3 separate regions of the Homo sapiens genome follow, and all the other regions are linked to region 3. The links are contacts of gene promoters, found by promoter capture Hi-C in human tissues and cell types (Jung and others, 2019). All regions are on one chromosome and are shown on one strand. The core of a region is centred on a gene start or on the middle of the fragment in contact, and the rest is flanking DNA. Distances in the headings are between cores, read along the strand shown.

Region 1 (2,993 bases), core at 58-2,557, 39 kb after region 3:
GACGAGGCCCAGAAGGGGCTGAAGTTTGCAGGTGGGGAGCAGGCTGCGGCTGTCATGGGGCTGTTGCTGCTCTGCAGGCCCTCGGAGGCGCGGAGCTTGGAGAACATGGCCAGCGCATCGGGGAAGTTGGGCGGCGTGGCAGGGGTGTTGCTGGGAGTGCACATCTGCGGGAGAGAACACGGGTGTGGGGAGGCTGCCTCGGGGGTCCCCGAGCCACTGGATGGGGCTTACCCAGGCCAGCCGCTCCTTTACTCCCATTTTTCAGCTTCATTCATTTTCGCACAAGCAGCTTCCACAGGACAAAAGTGCCCTCTCCCCGAGGCAATACAAACAGAAAACAAGGACAAAACCCAAGAACCTTATCAAAACCAACGGGGTTTCATGAGGCCTGGAAATGACACCCCGAGGAGCATTCAAAGTAAATGGTTAATTGCACCCAGGAGCTAAGGTGTCAGATTAAAGTGAAAGGGCAAGGGGGCAGCCCAGGACACCACTGTTCCGCACCTTCCCTGGGCAGGGAGACCAGCTGACTGCCCCACCAGCCACCCTCAGATGCTCCCAGGCTGCTAGGCAAGGGAGAGCGGCCAGCGGGGAGGCTCTCCCTCCTGTGCCAACCCTGGAAAAGTTAAGCCACCTTGGTGGATGGGTTCACACCACACTAAGGGTGACAGCCACCAGGCCTTGAAGGCTTTGCCTCCCTTAACAATGACACTTAGTGGCTTCAATTATCCTCTCTTTATGACAAATGAGGAAACTGAGGCCCAGAAGTCAAGTCACTTGCCCGAAAATGCACCCACAGCAGAGGGCAAGTTGAGAAGACGGACCTCCCCAGCTCCCAAGTCTGCAGGCCCAAGCTCTTAACATCTACTGGGCCACGCTGCACAGAGTCAAGAGCCCCTTTATATCTGGGCCCCTTGAGGACACAAACCAGGGATTTCAATGTCCTGTGTCTGTAGCCTCAGGCCACAAACACAGCTGGCCTGCCCTTGCCTGCAGGCTGGCAGTTTCTCAGTCTGTCCAGCCCCTCAGTCCTCTTCCTGGGGGTAGCTACAGTCCCCCATCTGCTGTCTTCTGTCACTACCCTGGGGGCAGGGGCTGGAGTGCCATCCAGGAGCACCTCGTCAGCAGCATGGGCAAGAGGCAACACAGAGAACAAGACCACACAAAACTGGCTGGGACCTCAAAGCTGCTTTCTCCCTTTCCCAGGAAGCCACAGGAGTCCTTCTTTGAATTTCTCCTAATTTTAGCAACACTGGCCCCTCCCCCAGGCGCAGGAGTTGGGGGAACGACTTGAGGGCTCTTCACCTTGAAAGAGGGAGCTTTGGCAGGGCGCAGTGGCTCACGTCTGTAATCCCAGCACTTTGGGAGGCCGAGGCGGGTGGATCACCTGAGGTTAGGAGTTCGAGACCAGCCTGACCAACATGGTGAAACCCTGTCTCTATTAAAAAATACAAAAATTAGCTGGGTGTGGTGATGGGCGTCTATAATCCCAGCTACTTGGGAGGTTGAGGCCGGAGAATCACTTGAACCCGGGAGGTGGAGGTTGTAGTGAGCTGAGATCACGTCACTGCACTCCAGCCTAGGTGGCAGAGCAAAACTCCGTCTCAAAAAAAAAAAAAAAAAAAACAGAGGGAGCTTTCACAGCTAGAAACCGGAGGTTGTGTAGGGGGTGTGTAACATACATGGAATGGGGACACTAGCACACCCTGTCCATTGAGCCCCACACCATGTCAGCACCCAGGGCACCAAGGGAGCTCTGACCCTTGCCTTTCTAGGGGTCCTCAGGGGGAGGCCAAAGGACCCAATGCAGAGGCCTGGCCCCACCCAGACCTTTCCCCTCCTCCCTCCACTACTCCCTGCCCCCCCCCCACCCTCTGGGGATGACTTCTCGGCAGCAGGAAACAATGAATGAAGGGTGGGGGTGGAGGCCAATTGCATCACAGCATCGTGACCGACTTCCCCAGTTCCCCGCCAGCCAGCGAGGCCTGTCTCCTCAAACAGCCGCCAGAGAACAGCAGGGATGATGGCTGGCAGGCCTGTGGTGGCCTGCCTGTGTAAGCTTGGGCAAGTTCCTGAACCTCTCTGGAGCTTCTCTCTGCTTTTGTAAAATGAGGGTTTTGAACCAGATATGCCCTCTCGGCCAGTTCTCAAGAAAACCCATTGTCCCCTGTACCTTTGTCCTCCCACTTCAAGTCTGTAGTGCCTTTCTCCACTTCCAACTGGGAAGCCCTCCTTATCAACTGGGAAGCTTCCAACTATGGGAATCTACAGTAATGTACGGGACAACCATTTATCAGTTACTCATGACTTCTGGTTTTGCCATTTTGCTGTTACTGGTCTCTAGTGTTTCGTTTTTTGATCTTTTTCCTTTGACTTACTTTGTCCAAAATAAATTGCCAGGCCGGGTGCAGTGGCTCACGCCTGTAATCCCTGAACTTTGGGAGGCCGAGGCAGGCGGACCACCTGAGGTTGGGAGTTCGAGACCAGCCTGATCAACATGGAGAAACCCCGTCTCTACTAAAAATACAAAATTAGCCAGGTGTGGGATTACAGGTGGCACGTGCCTGTAATCCCATGAGGCAGGAGAATCGTTTGAACCCAGGAGGTGAAGGTTGCGGTGAGCCGAGATCACACCATTGCACTCCGCCTAGGCAATAAGAGTGAAACTCTGTCTCAAAAAAAAAAAAAAAGAAAAGAAATTGCCAGCTGGGTGCAGTGGCTCACACCTATAATCCCAGCACTTCGGGAGGCTGAGGCGGAAGGATAGCTTGAGGCCAGGAGTTCAAGACCAGCTTGGGCCACATAGAGACTCCCCCTGCCCTGGCCTTTCTCAAAAATAAAATTAGAAAAAAAAAAAAAAAAAAAAAGAAACCATGAACTTTTTGAGAGCAGGGATGGTGTCCTCCACTGTGCTGCTAAGGCACTCAGACTTGGGCACTGATGGACACACTGGTTATGTGTGTTACAAAACCTGCTGCCTTCCTTGAGGGAAG
Region 2 (3,145 bases), core at 442-2,941, 57 kb after region 3:
ACGGGGGTCAGGTGAATGTCAGCTCCTCATTGCCTCCACAGGCAGCCAGGCTGTGAGTCAAAGAGGATGAACCTATTTTCACTTGGTTATCTTTAAATCCCAGAGTCCGGCTGGGCGCGGTGGCTCACGCCTGTAATCTCAGCACTTTGGGAGGCCGAGGTGGGCGGATCATTTGAGGTCAGGAGTTTGAGGTCAGTCTGACCAATATGGTGAAACCCCGTCTCTGTTAAAAATACAAAATCAGCCGGGCATGGTGGTGCATGCCTGTAGTCCCAGCTACTTGGGAGACTGAGGCAGGAGAATCGCTTTAACTTGGGAGGCAGAGATTGCAGTGAGCTGAGATCAGCCCATTGCACTTCCAGCCTGGGCAACAAGAGCGAGACTGTGTCTCAAGGAAAAAAAATTCCCAGAGTCACAGAGGAAATTTAAATGGACTAGGACTCAGCAGAAGGGAAAGAAATGTTAAAAGAAGCCAGAGTTTCTGATGAGATCATGCTTGAGGCTTTAGAAATTGTCAGGAACTCAGGAAGCCCGGGTATAGTGAAAAAAAAAAAAAAGTGAAAGAGAGAGAAAATCAAAAACAGAGAGCAAGAAACAAGTGCTGGGAAGAGAGGAGTTTGTTTACCATAAAGCCCCTGATTTGTTTGCCAGGATAGGTCCCCTTCTCCTTCAGAAACACAGCACCTCCAGAGTGAATGATGAATGAATGCCATTTCTGACCCCAACAGCCCAAGCCACACAAATCATTCTTTGGGCCAGGCATGAGGTGCTGTTAATAAAACACAGAGCCAGTGTTCTGCCTAAAGAGGAAGGAAGTATTTACTGAACACTAGAGCACTGGGTTGTACACAACCGAATTGGGAAACCACTAGAATATGCCTCATCACGAACAACATCCGTGCCACACGCTCCCGTGCCCAACACGCCCTGGGGCCTGGGAACAGTCAGAGAAAATCTTGTGTCCTGCCTTTGGGAGCTTCCAGATCAGAGCTGACCCACTGACCACACTGTGTACAGAGTCCAGTCATCAGAAGGGATTGAGCAAGGAAACAGGGTGTCCATCCAGCCCTGAAGGCAGGCAGCTGCCTACGCACTTCATGGCAGTGTTTGCAGGAGGACAGGTTACTCATCTGCTGGAGCTCTTAGAGGGAAGCTTAAGGCCAAAGAGGACTTCCATAGACAAGAGCTTCCCCGGGCCTGTTGAGGAAATAGTCCCGATACAGGAAGGAGATTGATAATACAGAGGGAAGTGAGGAGGAAAAGGAAGAAAGATTAAACCTAGAGAGAGGCACAGTGAAGGTGGAGGTGGTGGTGTGACAATGATGGAGACGTCCCCATGCATTGCCCTTTGTCACTGGCACCACCCTGGGAGAATCACTCCGCTAGCTTGGTGGGCAGTAGGGCTGGCACCCAGGCAGGCTTTCCCCACAGAGGCTGGTGAGATGATGATCCATGGGTAAAATGTAGGACTTTGAACCTGGAAGAACCTGGGGCCAGTTCCTGCTCCCTGTGCCTACTTGAGTTCCAGTTTCCTCATCTGGGAAGTGGGAACAATAATACTTATCTCTTAGGGTTGTTTTGAAGATTAAATGAGGCTCAGGTGGGAGGATCGCTTGAGCCCAGGAGGTTGAGACTGCAGTGAACTGTGATCACACCACTGCACTCCAGCTCGGGTGACAACGCATTCCAAAGTGCTTGGACAGAGTCATTGCTCAAAAATGACTATTCTTGGCTGGGCTCGGTGGTTCACGCCTATAATCCCAGCACTTTGGGAGGCCAAGGCAGGTGGATCACCTGAGGTCAGGAGTTCAAGACCAGCCTTACCAGCATGGTGAAACCCTATCTCTACTAAAAATACAAAAATTAGCTGGGCATGGTGGCATTCACCTGTAATCCCAGCTATTCGGGAGGCTGAGGCAGGAGAATCACTTGAACCTGGGAGGCAGAGGTTGCAGTGAGTCAAGATTGCGCCATTGCACATCAGCCTGGGCTACAGAGGGAGACTCCGTCTCAAAACAACAACAACAACAACAACTAAATAGTCATTCATTTAGTGAGCACTTTCTATATGGGAAGCAATGTACCCAGCCCTTCTGGGGGATTAGAAGAAACCTAAGACCAGGGGTATGCTGGTAAACTGGCTCTGGAGAATGGGAGGAAGCTGTGATTTGCAGCATTTGATGGTTTCTGTGTTGTAAATACTCCCATTACGCTACCAACAATTTAACAACTGGCTGGCAAAATTCCTGAACTATGAGCCCTGGAGAGCTGGCCCCAACTCAGTGAACTTGAACATTCTTTCTAGTTAGCAAATGGCACTTAAGTGAGAAGTTAACAATGGCAGAAGGCCGTGCACGGTGGCTCACGCCTATAATTCCAGCACTTTGGGAGGCTGAGGCGGGAGGATCACCTGAGCCCAGGAGTTCGAGACCAACCTGGGCAACATAGTGAGACCCTATCTCTTAAAAAAAATAGCCGGGTGTGGTGGCGCACTTTAGTCCCAGCTCCTCAGGAGGCTGAGGTGGGAGGATCGCCTGAGCACAGGAGGTCGAGGCTGCTGTGGGCCACGTTCATGCCACTGTATTCCAGCCTGGTGACCGTATCTCAAAACAAAAAGCAAACCCCCCAAAACAATGGCAGACAAACTCTGACCCACAAATACACACATCCGCAAATACACACACCACACACGTCCACAGATGGCTAATCCAGACAGCAGGGGCAAGAGGGCCGATTAGGGGCCTTGCTTTCTTCTAGTGCAGTGACTTGTTGGCAGTACTTTGTTAAGAAGGAGCAGGGCTGGGCTATCTTTTTCTCTGGCCCTTTAGCAGCCACCACACGTGATAAGGGAGACATGTTTCTGGCATTTTGAGTTTCAATGAACACAGAAAAGTGATGTCTCAGGAAATCGAAACCCCTGGGCTCTGCCTTCACCTGGTATGGGAAGTGCGTGGACCTCGGTTTCATCTTGGGCAGACTCTCAAATACATATCCTGACTTGGAAATCCAGAAACTCTGACTTTAAAATTATTATTATTATTATTATTTGAGACGGAGTCTCTCACTGTCACCCAGGCTGGAGTGCAGTGGCTCAATCTCGGCTCACTGCAAGCTCTGCCTCCTGGGTTCACACCATTCTCCTGCC
Region 3 (3,021 bases), core at 175-2,674:
TGCAATATCCTGTGTAGATGGTGGTCATGCTGTATTATTTAGAGAATCATGACAGGAATCTGTACGTGTTCAGTCGTGGTTGGTTAAATCTGCAGATGCAGAGCTCACGGAGGAGGCTGGCCATGCATGGCACACATTCATAGGTTCTCTTTAAGTAGCCTTGCTGTGCTTCTGTTAGGAAGTTTTATTTATACGTTTTTGGGAAGAATCTTGTATGGGGAAGTCATGTCTCAATTGTTAACACCAGATTTGTCTCGTGCTGTTTAATCCTGCTTTGTAATGAGCTCAAGCACAGGCGCTTGACCAGGTGAGTGGTTTCTTTTCTTTTCTTTTTTTTTTTTTTTGAGACAGAGTCTTGCACTGTCGCCCAGGCTGGGGTGCAGTGGTGCGATCTTGGCTCACTGCAACCTCTGCCTCCCGGGTTGACGCGATTCTCCTGCCTCAGCCTCCCGAGTAGCTGGGATTACAGATGCGCGGTACCATGCCCGGCTAATTTTTTGTATTTTTAGCAGAGGGGTTTCACTATGTTGGCTAGGCTGGCCTTGAACCCCTTACCTCAGGTGATCCACCCGCCTCGGCCTCCCAAAGTGCTGGGATTACAGGTGTGAGCCACCAAGCCTGGCCGTTTTTTTGAGATCAATTAATTTATGGCAGGCTGGGCGCGGTGGCTTACACCTGTAATCCCAGCACTTTGGGAGGCCGAGGTGGGTCGATCACTTGAGGTCGGGAGTTCAAGACCAGCCTGGCCAACATAGTGAAACCCCGTCTCTGCTAAAAATACAAAAAATTAGCCGGGCATGGTACCACGCATCTGTAATCCCAGCTACTCGGGAGGCTGAGGCAGGAGAATCATGTCAACCCGGGAGGCAGAGGTTGCAGTGAGCCGAGATCGTGCCATTGCACTACAGCCTGGGCGACAGAGCAAGACTCCCTCTCAAAAGTAAAAAAAAAATTATGGCAGCACAGAAAAGGGACAATTAGCCACCAGTTAGTCATCTAGTGGCTAATTGGAACTGCCTGAATAGTGAGTGGGTTGTCTTTTCCAAGTTGCTTCACCTTTGATTGAACAAAATATGTGGACTGTCTGAGGGGACCAGGGCCCCAGGACTGCATCCCTTAGACATGGGGCCATAGACATGGGGCCACCACTCTGGAATGGACGCAGCTGATGACACAAAGCATGGTTGCCAGGAAACCCTCAAGTCTTTCCTTATGTGGCCCCGCCAAGAGTGAGTGAATCCTGGCCTTTCTAGGTTAAGGGGATGGATGGAGTCTAGCTGGATCTTAGGAGGCCTCCTCAGCCCGTTGCCAAGGCTCCCCTTGTGATCCTTGTGGTGGCCTTTACTTCCCCCCGCCCCCGTGGCTCGCAGGGAGGCGTGTTGTTACGTGGAATCTTCAGGGCACGCGGGGGCCCCCACGTTTCAAACGTCCGCCGGCGCGGGGACTGGGAGTCCAGGGCTCCAGCTCGGGGACCCGAGGCCAGCGACAGACAGCGGAGGGGTGGCCATCGCGGACCCCGCCGGGGAGCGGAGGCGCAGATTCCCTGGAGGCAGGAGCTCTGTCCAGTGACTCGGCCGGACCCGGGGCAGGGGCGCCCCGAGGACCTCGCAGGGCCCCCGAAAGGCCCCAAGGCGCGGCGTGCAGTGAGCGGGAAGTGGTTGGCCGGCGCCCCGCGGCGGCGCACAGCTCCTGACAGCCACGATGCCGCCCGCGACCACGGTCTCCCTCCGGGAGCTGGCGGACCTCTCCATCGGCACGCCAGAGGTGGGCGCCGTCAACTTCACGGCCCTGCACACGCTCATCGTGGCCATGCTCAAGAACCTCGACCTCCAAAATACCCGGATCGACTTCCAGCCCTCGTCGCCCGAGCCCAGCCGCTCGCTGCAGTCCGTCCGGAGCTCGTTCAGCATCCCGCACCTGCCCGCGCCCAAGGAGGTGCCCAAGGGGGCGCCCCGGGAGAAGCGCAGGGGCGTGGGCCAGGCGCCTTCGTCAGCGCTGGAGAGCCAAGTGAAGGACCTGGGCGGCCAGGTGGAGGACCTGAGCAAGCAGCTCAAGCGTGTGGACGGCCAGGTGCAGGGCATCGCCACGCACGTGCAGCACTTCTCCCAGGCCAGCGGGCTTGACCTGGCCGCGCTAGAGTGGCCGGAGGAGCAGGAGGTGGGCGTGCGGGCGTTCGATAGGGTGCGGACTGGGAGTATCATGAAGGACGCCGCCGAGGAGCTCAGCTTTGCCAGGGTGAGCACGCACACGGAGGCACGCGCAGGCCGTCTGCCTCCTCCAGGCCGCCCTCCAGGCCTAGCCGAGTCCCCACCACCCTGGAGGGGTGAGCGGTGGTGGGGACGGAGGGGATGGGGACCGAGGAGGTGCCAGACCTCAGTGCGACTGGCTAAATAGAGTGGCCCATGCTCTACCTTGCAGTCCACGGGGCTGCAAGACGTGAAAATCCTAAAAGAACGCCACCAAAAGGCCTAGGGCCTCCCCGAGCTGGAGGGGCCTGGGGACCCCACCTCCTAAGTGTAGTGGCCCCATCCCACCCCCTCCTTCCTAGCCCCTGTTTACGGGAGAGGTTCGCCCACCACTTATCAGACATCCAAGGACCCAGAGCTGGCTCAGAGTGGGGCCGGCAACTTCTCAGAAGATTCTTAGAGTGAATTCCCTTTTTAAAATGAATAAGGACATGAAGAGATACGTGTTGAGGACAAAGGCTCCCAGAGAAGGGGAGTCAGGATGGAGAGTTGGACCTCAGCTTCCTATGGCCATGACACAAGCCACAGCAGGCAGGGGACCGTTTCACTTGGACTTTTTTTTTTTTTGAGAAGGAGTCTCACTCTATCACCCAGGCTGAAATGCAGTGGTGCAGTCTCGGCTCACTGCAACTTCCGCCTCCCAGACTCAAGCGATTCTCCTGCCTCAGCCTCCCGAGTAGCTGGGATTATAGGCGCGCGCCACCCCGCCTGGCTAATATTTGTGTTTTTAGTAGAGAAGGAGTTTCACCATGTTGGCGGGGCTGGTCTCAAACTC

Evidence for each region. The method cuts DNA at HindIII sites, captures the fragments that hold promoters and counts their contacts. A contact is called where the count stands out against the background at its distance.
Region 1: a contact is called between a fragment that was not itself captured here and the fragment with the promoter of QRICH2 in region 3, in 3 of the 25 tissues and cell types used here (heart left ventricle, hippocampus and pancreas).
Region 2: a fragment that was not itself captured here is called in contact with the fragment with the promoter of QRICH2 in region 3 in 4 of the 25 tissues and cell types used here (IMR-90 fibroblasts, heart left ventricle, mesendoderm cells and 1 more).

What each region holds. Positions count from the first base shown.
Region 1 is chr17:76,267,365-76,270,357 of GRCh38, reverse strand. It overlaps UBALD2 (UBA like domain containing 2), which reads right to left. Exons shown (of 3, transcript NM_182565.4): 3 at 1-164. Among named protein-coding and RNA genes, the nearest start is that of UBALD2, 3.5 kb to the right of the region's middle. RefSeq lists enhancers at 108-297, 1,998-2,227. The HindIII fragment of the contact is 4,243 bases long and covers 1-2,993 here.
Region 2 is chr17:76,250,095-76,253,239 of GRCh38, reverse strand. The region is part of intron 5 of LOC105371896 (a long non-coding RNA gene); the gene reads left to right. Among named protein-coding and RNA genes, the nearest start is that of RNF157, 11 kb to the right of the region's middle. RefSeq lists an enhancer at 1,061-1,130. The HindIII fragment of the contact is 5,873 bases long and covers 1-3,145 here.
Region 3 is chr17:76,306,679-76,309,699 of GRCh38, reverse strand. It overlaps QRICH2 (glutamine rich 2), which reads left to right and starts at 1,424. Exons shown (of 19, transcript NM_001388453.1): 1 at 1,424-2,235. The coding sequence starts at 1,702. It overlaps PRPSAP1 (phosphoribosyl pyrophosphate synthetase associated protein 1), which reads left to right. Exons shown (of 10, transcript NM_002766.3): 10 at 1-222. The HindIII fragment of the contact is 11,814 bases long and covers 1-3,021 here.